2 separate regions of the Homo sapiens genome follow, and region 2 is linked to region 1. Evidence: promoter capture Hi-C in 16 types of primary human blood cells and fetal thymus (Javierre and others, 2016). All regions are on one chromosome and are shown on one strand. The core of a region is centred on a gene start or on the middle of the fragment in contact, and the rest is flanking DNA. Distances in the headings are between cores, read along the strand shown.

Region 1 (5,491 bases), core at 2,563-5,062:
AGAAAGCGAGACTCTGTCTCAAAAATAATAATAATAATGAACAGATTTGTCCTGAATGCCATTTAAACTATTAAGTATAGAATACAGGTTATGTCCTATATAATGAATATTTCTACAGAATAAGAGAAAACCAGGGCCACTTATATTTACCTTCATTCCCAATTTGCATTTTAAATGCAGTGTTGTGTCAAGTTCATTTTCACTCATTTTCACTAAAGCTGACCATTGATAATGCTGAAAAAACACAGGAGAGAACAGGACACATCCATATGCTGACCGAGAAGAATTCACACATCTTAGAGCAAGCTAGAAAAATAAGATAAAAACTATTTAGGAGAGGTTGCGCATGGTGGCTCCCATGAACCTGTAATCCAAGCACTTTGGGAAGCCAAGGCAGGAGGATGGATGGAAGCCAGGAGTCTGAGACCAGCCTGGCCAACAGAGCAAGACCCCACCTCTATTTTTTTATTTTAAAAAAATTTAGGAGAAAATAAACTTTCTTTACATAATAGCTTGATTCAGAAAACGTCATTATGTTTAACATCACAGTTAAATGTGTTCAAATAAGAACATGGGATGTTAATTATGGACTGCCCTATATAGTCTGTATTGAATTTGCATATATATACATATATGTACACCTATAATATATACAGGACATAACCTGTATTCTATACTTGATAGTTTAAATGGCATTCAGGACAAGTCTGTTAATTTATTATACACCTATATATATACATACATATAGGTGTACATACATGTATATATACAAGCATGTACGTATATATAGGTGTATACATATATGTATATTATATTGAATACATATATGTGTTAAATCTAAAAGTTTACATGTTGAAAACATAAAATAGTAAATGCCTACAGGGGCCTTAACTTTCTTTTAATTTCTTTTTTACTTTTTTTCAAAAAACCAGCCTGTTGGCCAGGCTGGAGTGCAATGGTACCACCGCAGCTCACTGCAGCCTCCAAACCCCTGGCCTCAACCAATCCTCCCTCCTCTCAGCCTTCCAAGTAGCTGGGACTACAGGCACACAACATATCACCCGACTAATTTTTAAAATTTTTTTGTAGAGACAGGTAGTGTCTTGCTTTGTTGCTCAGGCTGGTCTCGAACTCCTGGGCTCAAGTGATCCTCCTGTCTCAGCCTCCCAAAGTGCTGGGATTACATTTGTGAACTACCACACCCAGTCATGAGCCTTAACCTTAATGTGTGAAATGGCAAAAGGCAATATATAAGGGAGTTGCAATATATAAGGGAGTTACAGCATATTGGCGGTCTCACACCTTGTCTAAGCGGGGAAACCATTACTCAGTTTCAGCCAACTACTTCCACTTGGGAATGAATGCAGTCCCAAAACTGTCAGGTCTTCTGAATTTTCAAGAGAAGCAGGAAAAATTTGACTCAATTTTTTTTTTTTTTTTTTTTGGGACGGAGTCTCACTCTCACTCTGTTGCCCAGGCTGGAGTGCAGTGGCACCATGTCGGCTCACTCACTGCAACCTCCATCTGCTGGATTCAAGCAATTCTCCCACCTCAGCCTCCCGAGTAGCTGGGATTACAGGTGCCCACCACCATGCCAGGCTAATTTTTATATTTTTAGTAGAGAAGGAGTTTCACCATGTGGACCAGGCTAGTCTCGAACTCCTGACCTCAGGTGATCCACCCACCTCGGCCTCCCAAAGTGCTGGGATTACAGGCGTGAGCCATCGCGCCCGGCCTCAATTTTTAAATGTTGGAAATTATTTCAAATTAAAAAAAAAAAAAAACAGTGCAGGCCAACAAACATTCCTGCAGACCGTAGCTAGTCTCTTAACTACCAGTTTGTGACTTCCAGTTTAAATCAATCAAGCTTATCTGCATATTTTCAACTTTACCATGCTCTAAGTGTATTCAGATATGTAAAATAAAGATAAACAGTGAAAGGGATAATTACAATTTCTGGATTTCCTAGTTAACATTCAATCTGGACTGGGATCTTTAAACATCTCCTCTTGCCTTGATACGTGATCTGTTAACTTTCTTACTTACACCTTTTTTAGATGGGTCTAGCCAGAACTCGTCACTAATTCGTGATAGAGCTTGAACTGCTTTCCCAAATACTATGGAGAAAAAGAAAGGTGATGCTTATATTCTTTCCCTCTAACAATAAAAACAAATCACAAGACTAGTTCAGCATTCAGAGGACTCAAGAGAAATTCAAAAATAACAGTATCTTACAGACTAATGCTACATTACTTTAATACAGTATAATACCCTTGGCAAAATGCCAGACACATAGTCAGGGCTCAATAAATTTGTAGTGTGTGAAATGATAAAATTGACCGAAATTTGTCCTTCTATATGTTTACAGTGTTGCATGGAGCTACTGTGCAAACCAATTTCCATACTAATGTATTTTACAACTTGATTTAGATAAATGTATTTGACCCCCCAAAAACTGTGAAAACAGTGCATGGAGAAGATAATCTGAAGTGGTTTTAATAGCTTGATAGCCAAGTCACAACAAGTCATGAGAGAGAAATTAGGGGTATCCAACATACATCTCTGATGTTTGAGGGCAGCCAGATTTCCCCACCACAGAACACATTTAGGGCTGGAAAACACACTAGTCTGATCCCGTACGACATTGTTAATGTTCTTTTTATTTTTTATTTTTTTTGAGACAGAGTCTCACTCTGACACTCAGGCTGGAGTGCAGTGGCACGAGCTCAACTCACTGCAGCCTCAACCTCCCGGGCTCAATCGATCCTCTCGCCTCAGCCTTCCAAGTAGCTTGGGATTACAGGCGCCCACCACTAAGCCCGGCTAATTTTTGTATGTTTAGTAGAGACGGGGTTTCATCATGTTGGTCAGGGTGGTCTCGAACTCCCGACCTAAGGTGATCCACCCGCCTTGGCCTCCCAAAGTGCTAGGATTACAGGCGTGAGCCACTGCACCCGGCCTAACTTCCATTTTGAAAGCGCCGTTTACAACACTAATAGTTCTTGTACATTCCATCTATTACTGGGCTCTTTACACGCATTTCCATTTCATTGCCTCCAAACAAACTCTGTGACGAAGGTGCTGTCATTACCCCTGTTTCCGTTTTAGAAACTGAGCCCCAAAGAGATTTAGTGACTTTTCCAAGTTCATACATTTTTAAAAATGGTAGAATCTGGGGAAAAAAAAAACCAGGTTAATGCTGTTCTCTTGGCACAAAAATACTTTTACTGTCCAAGCATTATTTTTTTCTCTCAACTCTTCCCCATGCAGTCCTCAGCATCCCGAGTTTGTGGCCCGATGGTACAACTCTATTTCCCGGATACCACCCATATTACATCTGCCTCTAAGTCACACGAGATGGGTCCTCATCCTCCCCTCAGAAGTTAACAGGGACTTGAGTGGGTGGGGCTGTGGCCAGGGCGTGCGTCCTCAGTCATTGCGCAAAAAGGCAAAGAGGAAAAATTAGACAATGGTAGGGACGACCTATTAACGTCTGCTTTTCTCTCTGCTAAATGGGAAGACAACAAAGGCCGCTCCACCTTTCACCTGACTGCCGCTCATCACGCACTTCAGCATGGCTGCCATCCGCCCTAAAAAGCAGGCTCGGAAGGCGCGCCTCAGCTCGACGGCCCAGGTGCCCGGATGTTGCCCGCGCTTTTCAAAGCTTCGCGATCTCGTCTCTGCACTCTACCACCCCGCCTCCACAAGTTCCCAAACGGCTTTACGGCGGAGAAGGGTCCGTGCGGGCCTCCGTACGGCAATTTCTGTCTCCCTCTGCTCTCATTGGTTGCGGTTAAGTGGGCGGGTCGCCGAGGAGCCTGAGGAAGAGGGCGGCGACGGTGGTGGTGACTGAGCGGAGCCCGGTGACAGGATGGTGAGGGCTGCAGTTGCGGCGACCAAGGCCTGGCTCTCGGGTGGGGTGCTGCGTTGTTGGGAGCCGTGGGGAGGCCGAGGGCGAGGAATTGGGAAATCCCGGAGGCCTCGGCGTCAGGGCCCAGGCGCTGGCCTGGGAAAGGCCCAGAAGAGGTCTAGGGAAGGAAGGGAGCGGCCACCTCTGGGTGCGGCTGGCCTAGGTCTCGTATCCCGGCCCCAAGGGGCCAGAGGCCATCCAAGGGGTAAAAAGGCCCCTCTAGCAGCCCGACCTGTCACGAGACACGCACGCCCGAGCCAGGGAAGGCCTTTGGTCCTATACCTCGAATGTTCCGGGGATAGGGGCACGGTCCTCCGTTTCCAGACGGTTCCTACTCGTTTCCCGCAAAAAGCACCTCCCGCTGGTTGGGGTGTAGTGGTGGAAGCTGGCCTCTCGAATGCAGAACAGGAAGTAGCGAGCAGAATTTCGTACCCGTTTAACTTTGCCATCTAGGGAAAGGGAATAAACCACCCTCCTCGCTCCTGAAATAACATCTAGCTGCCATTGAGATGAGCAGGTGTGCTCTCAGAGGGCGGGATTTGGCGCTTGCAATTGCTGGAACTGTTTCTTTCCACGGGTTGCTACGCCTCTTTAGGGTAGGATTCCTTAATGATGTGTGAACTCATTGAAACTGTTGGGAAATTTTTGTGAATATACACATTTTTCTGGGGAGAGTGCCGGTGTTGGAGACTTACCTAGTCTCCCCCAGCCACCTTCAAGCAATCACCCCTTCACCCCCAGTAGTTTGGTGCCCCTCAGACCTTCCTACATAAAAACTGGGGGCCTCTACTAGAGAGGACTCAGAGCTGTAATCATATTTTCTTTCTTTCTTTTTGAGATGGAGTCTCGCTCTGTCGCCCAGGCTGGAGTGCAATGCCGCGATCTCGGCTCACTGCAATGCCGCCCGGGTTCAAGCCTCAGCTCCTGCCTCAGCCTCCCGAGTAGCTGGGATTACAGGCGCCCGCCACCAAGCCCGTCTAAATTTTTGTATTTTTAGTAGAGACGGGGTTTCACCATGTTGGTCAGGCTGGTCTCTACCTCCCGACCTCAGATGATCCACCCGCCTCGGCCTCCCAAAGTGCTGGGGTTACAGGCGTGAGCCACCGCGCCCGGCCTGTAATCATATTTTCAAAGGTGCCTTTGACTCTTAAAAAGTCAATTGTTTGGGGCAACCCACTCGGGTCCCCTTCCACCCTGTGTAAGCTTTGTTCTTTCGCTCTTCACAATAAATCTTGCTGCTGCTCAAAAAAAAAAAAAAAATCAATTGTTTGAAATGGAGCTGTGATTATCTTCATATTTGTGTTGATGGAGGTTGGCTGTAAAGGGACGTCTACCTCTGACAGGCATTTATTGCATTCTTTTTTATTTTTACAAGGAAACCAAAGAAGCTATGCATTTTTAAGATTATTACTATTGCATGACAAACAGCCTTTTCAAGAGGGGGACTTACAGACATGGCAGCCAGAGATTTATGGTGCATGCTTCTTTAAAATCTTTAATCTCACTTTTAATTTTTGCTTCTAAACAGACTCCAATTTAAAGTAATCCGTTTACAGTAATTTCGAGACACCTATCCATGGG
Region 2 (6,137 bases), core at 910-3,409, 230 kb before region 1:
GTTTCTTGGGGACTATGTGGACAGGGGAAAGCAGTCATTGGAGACGATCTGCCTCTTACTGGCCTACAAAATAAAATATCCTGAGAATTTTTTTCTTCTCAGAGGGAACCATGAATGTGCCAGCATCAACAGAATTTATGGATTTTATGATGAATGTAAGTACTTTTCTATATCTAAGGAAGAGTTATTGAAATTAAGATATTTATCATAAACAATTATCACATACTTCTGTTAGGAATTGTGAGAGTTTAGATGCAGTGGTATCATCTCTCATGTTTTCTATTTCATCAACTTGTTTTTAGCTTAGCTTTTTTAGGGGGGTGGGGGAACGGAGTCTCACTCTGTTGCCCAGGCTGGAGTGCAGTAGCACCATCTTACCTCATTGCAACCTCTGCCTCCCAGGCTCAAGCAATCCTCCTGCCTCAGCCTCCCAGGTAGCTAGGACTGCAGACATGCATCACCACGCTTGGCTAATTTGTGTATTTTTTTGAAGAGATGGGGTTTCACCTTGTTGCCCAAGCTGATCTGAAACTCCTGGCTCAAGGAATCTGCCCGCCTAGGCCACTCAAAGTACTGGGATTACTGGCGTGAGCCATGATGCCCAGCCAGTTTTTTCTCTCTTGGGTAGAAAAATAACACTGCCGCTGTAATAAAATAAGGTCTTGGATTCTTTTATGATGTGATGATCAGATTAGGAAGTAATGATCATGGTAATGGTTGCTTTAAGATTTAAATTGTTGTATTCACAGATAACTTAATTCTTAGTAGAAATCTGAGAACCATTCCAAATAGTTTTTTTAAGCAACTTTATTATGTAATTTCATTCCATAAAATTATTCTGTTAAAAGTGTACAATTCAGCGATTTGTAGTAAATTTATAGAGTTATGCGACCATCACCATAGTCCCCAGGCAACCACTAATCTACTTTTTGTCTTTTCTAGAGAATATTGCATGCAAATGGAATCTTGCAATACGTAAATAATTAGTTTTTGAAATTATTATAGTTTTTCTCCTTCTGGCATATCCACACCCAGGAAGAATGGCAATAACTTTCCTAAAACTAAAATGTGCTGAACAAAGATTATTTTTACAGTATTTTACACATTTTGTGACCCATTTTGGATTGTTTAATTAAAGGTATACTTCGATTTGACTATTGACAAAACACAGTTCTTAAAGCTTTGAAAATAGGCTGGGCACAGTGGCTCACGCCTGTAATCCCAGCACTTTGGGAGGCCACAGCGGGTGGATCACAAGGTCAAGAGATCAAGACCGTCCTGGCCAACATGAGGAAACCTCATCTCTACTAAAAATACAAAAATTAGCCAGGCGTGGTGGCAGATGCCTGTAGTCCCAGCTACTCAGGAGGCTCAGGCAGGAGAATCACTTGAACCCAGGAGTCGGAGGTTGCAGTGAGCCAAAATCACACCACAGTAGTCCAGCCTGGGTGGCAGAGTGAGACTCCGTCTCAAAAAAAAAAAAAAAAAAAAGCTTTGAAAATATCAGTTCAGTAAAGGGTTTCAAGTCAGAAAAGGTTTTGAATCTTTACCTTCACCTTCCTTTTGTGCTCATCATTGCTGCCAGGACGGGTTTCAGGTTTGGAGTGAAGAGGTGGTTAAGGAACTTCAGGTACTTGGCATTTGCTAATATGATTATAGGGATATCAGCAAAGGGTTGTCCCTGTGGCCCTCCCCTAGACCACATCGTAACCTAGAGTCTCCAGATGCAGTGTTTTTCCATCTCAATTCACATAGATATGTTGAGCTAGCACATTTGTTAGAAGTGCATCCTAGAAAGATTATATTCACAAACTGAGCCCTTCTACTACCACCCTTTCCCACAACTGGATGTTTGCTTGGTCTGTGACCTTGAGATCCAGCTGATAAGATGGGGTGGCAGGAATCATCAGGGACAAAAATTCTATGGGTTCTGGACTGACTGATAGCATTGAACTTGTACATGAAAGGTATTCAATATTAACAGTGATTCTGTGTCAGAGAAGTACCAGTAAGCCAGTTACTACTCCTTAGGTAGTGAAATGCAAGGCAGGTGTGATGGGTTTTTTTTGTTTGTTTTTGAGACAGAGCCTTAGGCTGGAGTGCAGAGGTGGGATCATAGCTTACTACCACCTGTAATTTCTGGGTTTAAGCAATCCTTTCACCTCAGCCTCCCTAAGTGCTGGGATTACAGTCATGAGCCACCACACCCAGCCAACACTGTGTTTTGGATACTTATTCCAAGTGTTACTCTTGAGTTTTTTGTTTTTTGTTTTTTTTTTTTTTTTTGAGACGGAGTCTCGCTCTGTCGCCCAGGCTGGAGTGCAGGGCGCGATCTCGCCTCACTGCAAGCTCCGCCTCCTGGGTTCACGCCATTCTCCTGCCTCAGCCTCCCGAGTAGCTGGGACTACAGGCGCCCGCCACTACGCCCGGCTAATTTTTTGTATTTTTAGTAGAGGCGGGGTTTCACTGTGTTAGCCAGGATGGTCTCGATCTCCTGACCTCATGATCCGCCCGCCTCTGCTTCCCAAAGTGCTGGGATTACAGGCGTGAGCCACCGTGCCTGGCCTGCTCTTGAGTTAAAGGATTCCTTTTACATAGCTGTTAGCCCAGCAAATACTTTTCATGTTTGCACTGATGAATTCAAATCCAGTTGACCTCATTTTTGTGACGTGTATCCTAATGTAATGATACTGGCTGCATCAGTTTCGGTTTCTACTTAATGCAGAGGCCTTTAAAAAATGACTTAGAAGATCAGTGTTGGTTGGTATCAGTTTCGACTCCTGTTTGGTCATCAACACAATTTGTAGATCTTATGCTCAAGCTTCCTCTCTCTCATCAGGCAGATATAATTTGCCATCCAGTCTACTTGTGGGCATGAAAGTGCCCTTGACATAGGTGGCTTTTGGTTGAAGGCTTGCAGACATTTAATATATATATAAAATACTTAACTAATTTTATTAAAATGAAAAGTTGTATTCAAATGTTGATTTTCATGGGACAATTTAAAAACCACTGCCTGTTTTCCAGGTACATAAGTACTTTATACTACCATTTCTTTTTTTTTTTTTTTTAACTTTGTAAATGTGATGGAAAGGCTGAGGTATATGTTGTTGGGTAAAACATGAGTGTTTGTTGATCTGTTTCTGCTGCCGTAGCTGTCTGATGTACAGTAATGCGAAACCGCATTACAGGTTATGGCTCAGAATCTTAGGATTTGGAAGCTAGGCGATTACCCTGGCTAAACCTTTCAGGAGCCAGATGTTCCTAGTGGTCTGAGGTAGCCTTAGGGAGGAAATGAAGAGAGAATAGAAAGAGGCAGGCCCACGCTTAAAGTGCTGAGAGGGAAAAGGAGGAAACAAACTGATTTTTGATGGAGAAGCCAGCAGGAATCAGCAGGAGAAGCTGGAGTATGTGGCATAACTAAAGAATCAAAGCCGGGGCGTGGTAGCTCACGCCTGTAATCCCAGCACTTTGGGAGGCCAAGGTGGGTGGATCACTTGAGGTCAGGAGTTCAACCTGATCACAAGAGGTCAGGAGGTCTGACCAACATGGGGAAAACCCATCTCTATTAAAAATACAAAAATTAGCTGTGGTGGTGCACACCTGTAGTCGCGGACACTCAGGAGATTGAGGCAGGAAAATCACTGGAACCTGGGAGACCATGGTTGCAGTGAGCCAAGATTGCGTCGCTTCATTCCCCCTAGGTGATGCAGTGAGACCCCACCTCAAAAAAAGTATCCAGAAGTGAAGCTGACCTTGGGGAAAGAGGAAGTCACTGTCACTGGGGAGCTAAGACAGCAGCTCTGTTTTTATAATACAGGTTAAGTATTCCTTACCGGGAATGCTTGGCACTAGAAGTGTTGCAGGTTTTTTGTTTTTGTTTTTAATTTTGGAATATTTGTGTTATAATTACTGGTTAAACATCCCTAATCCAAAAATCTGAAATCCAGAATGCTCCAGTGAGCATTTCCTTTGAGCATCATGTGAGTGCTCAAAAAGTTCCAAATTTTGGAGCATCTTGGATTAAGGATACTCATCCTGTGGTGGTAGTAGTAGTAGTATTGCTGTTGGAAATGGGAGTTGGTGGTTTTTGGAGATTGCCCTTCAGCCTTTCGTAAGAAGGAGTTTGCTTTTTTTTGAGACGGAGTTTCACTCTTGTTGCCCATGCTGGAGTGCAATGGTGCGATCTTGGCTTACTGCAACCTCTGCCTCCCAGGTTCAAGCAATTTTCCTTCCTCAGCCTGGCGGGAGAAGTTTGTTAAACTTTCCGAACCCCCTAGTGAAGGACCTCTAAAGAAATATGCAACAGGGTGAACCATAGTCAGTGTTAGACCCAGTCATTGAGAAACCAGAAATTATTAGGAGAAAAGATAACACTCCTCTGCAGAGAGAAGGCAAACATTTGTTGAATTTACATTTCATTTCAAGCCCTGTGGTAAACTCCCTAAGCTGCTTGATTTGCATTACAGGGTGGGAGGTGTGGTTCAGGTCAGTTGCTTGGGCTGGCTCTAACTCTCAAAGGAGAGGTATAGGTTTAAACCTTTAGATGTCCCTGTATTCCCCAGGAAAAGAGACTAAGGACAAACTCTTGGTTTGTTTTGTTTGTTTTGTTTTGTTTTTTGAGACGGAGTTTCGCTCTTGTTGCCCAAGCCGGAGTGCAATGGCACAATCAAGGCTCACCGCAACCTCCGCCTCCCAGGTTCAAGTGACTCTTCTGCCTTAGCCTCCCAAGTAGCTGGGATTACAGGCATGCGCCACCACGCCCAGCTAATTTTTATATTTTTAGTAGAGACGGGATTTCTTCATGTTGGTCAGGCTGGTCTCAAACTCCCAACCTCAGATGGTCTGCCCGCCTCGGCCTCCCAAAGTGCTGGGATTACAGGTGTGAGCCACCGCGCCTGGCCAAACTCCTGGTTTTTAAAGATTGTGCTTAGTATAGTAAGTACAGGAAACAAAGGCATCTGGACAATTGGACAATCCTCAACCAATCCAGAGAAATTTGTTCTTGCAAGGTATGTGACTAGGTTTTAAACTCAGAACATCAGTTTCCTGTAGAAACAGTGCATAGAGGCATATTTCTGTCAGAACTGCACTCTGACTCCAGAATGTGTGGATGCCTGTGCTGTTGAGGGAACATGACCATCCTGTGACATCAGGCCTGTGGGAGCATGTGGAGTCTGTGCAGTGTTGGAAACAAATGCCCTGTAGTGCCTGTGAGAGGCAGCCACTGCCGTGTGATCATTGTGCCTCCTGCTAGAGTACTGAGGGCTGGGGATCCTCTGGTGTCAGTAGGTTATTGAGGGGCATATATGGGGGATGGGTGCTAACTCTCAGGTTTCCTCAGAAGGAAGGTCATAACGCCACATGTGTAAGTTCGTAATTGAATTCAGAAGTAGGGGACTAGCTGCGGTGAGATTGGACAGAGCAGACAATTTCAAACAGAATTGATGCTCCCAGATAATTCCTGGGATTTGATGGCAGTCCTTAATCATTATCAAATCTGGAATTCTGGTTTCATGCTTCTGTGGAATTTAAAAAGATTTCATGTGAAAATGTAAGTCATTGCTTTTAGATCAGATATGTGTCTCTCCTAAACCCCTTCCCTCTAGGAGAGTCTTTCTTTAAAGAGATGGGGTCTCACTATGTTGCCCAAGATGGTCTTGAACTCCTGGGCTCAAGCCATCCTCCTACCTCAGCCTCCCGAAGTGCTGGGATTACAGGTCTGACCCACCACGCCCAGCTCTTATTTTAAAAGAGCCTTAAAATAAGATGGTTTTATTAAGATTCTTAATAAAAACATAGTTTCATTTGCTTAAAAGGCACCCAGAATCTTGCTTTGGGGGAAGTTAATCCTGAGAGAATGAGCCTACGGAACAGTAATACTCTCTTTTTAATGTAATACTCTCTTTTTAATCACAGGTAAAAGAAGATACAACATTAAACTATGGAAAACTTTCACAGACTGTTTTAACTGTTTACCGATAGCAGCCATCGTGGATGAGAAGATATTCTGCTGTCATGGAGGTAGGTGGGCTGATTTTTGTTCCAAATAGGTTTTGATCCCTTCCAAAGGGTGAACACTTTAACATTTGTGAGTTATCATTGGGATGACTTTCTCTGACAGAACACTCTCCTTT

What was found. Contacts are between HindIII fragments. The CHiCAGO score rates a contact against its expected background, and 5 or more counts as called.
Region 2: a fragment that was not itself captured here is called in contact with the fragment with the promoter of VPS29 in region 1 in 1 of 17 cell types (total B cells); the score reaches 5.6 in total B cells.

The regions. Positions count from the first base shown.
Region 1 is chr12:110,500,432-110,505,922 of GRCh38, reverse strand. VPS29 (VPS29 retromer complex component) reads left to right here and starts at 3,812. Exons shown (of 4, transcript NM_016226.5): 1 at 3,812-3,874. The coding sequence starts at 3,872. RAD9B (RAD9 checkpoint clamp component B) reads right to left here and starts at 3,592. Exons shown (of 11, transcript NM_001286535.2): 1 at 3,540-3,592; 2 at 2,047-2,117; 3 at 151-306. The coding sequence starts at 3,585. RefSeq lists an enhancer at 3,844-3,983. The HindIII fragment of the contact is 1,449 bases long and covers 3,667-5,115 here.
Region 2 is chr12:110,724,547-110,730,683 of GRCh38, reverse strand. It overlaps PPP1CC (protein phosphatase 1 catalytic subunit gamma), which reads left to right. Exons shown (of 7, transcript NM_002710.4): 3 at 1-155; 4 at 5,920-6,024. Among named protein-coding and RNA genes, the nearest start is that of PPP1CC, 15 kb to the left of the region's middle. The HindIII fragment of the contact is 1,329 bases long and covers 1,495-2,823 here.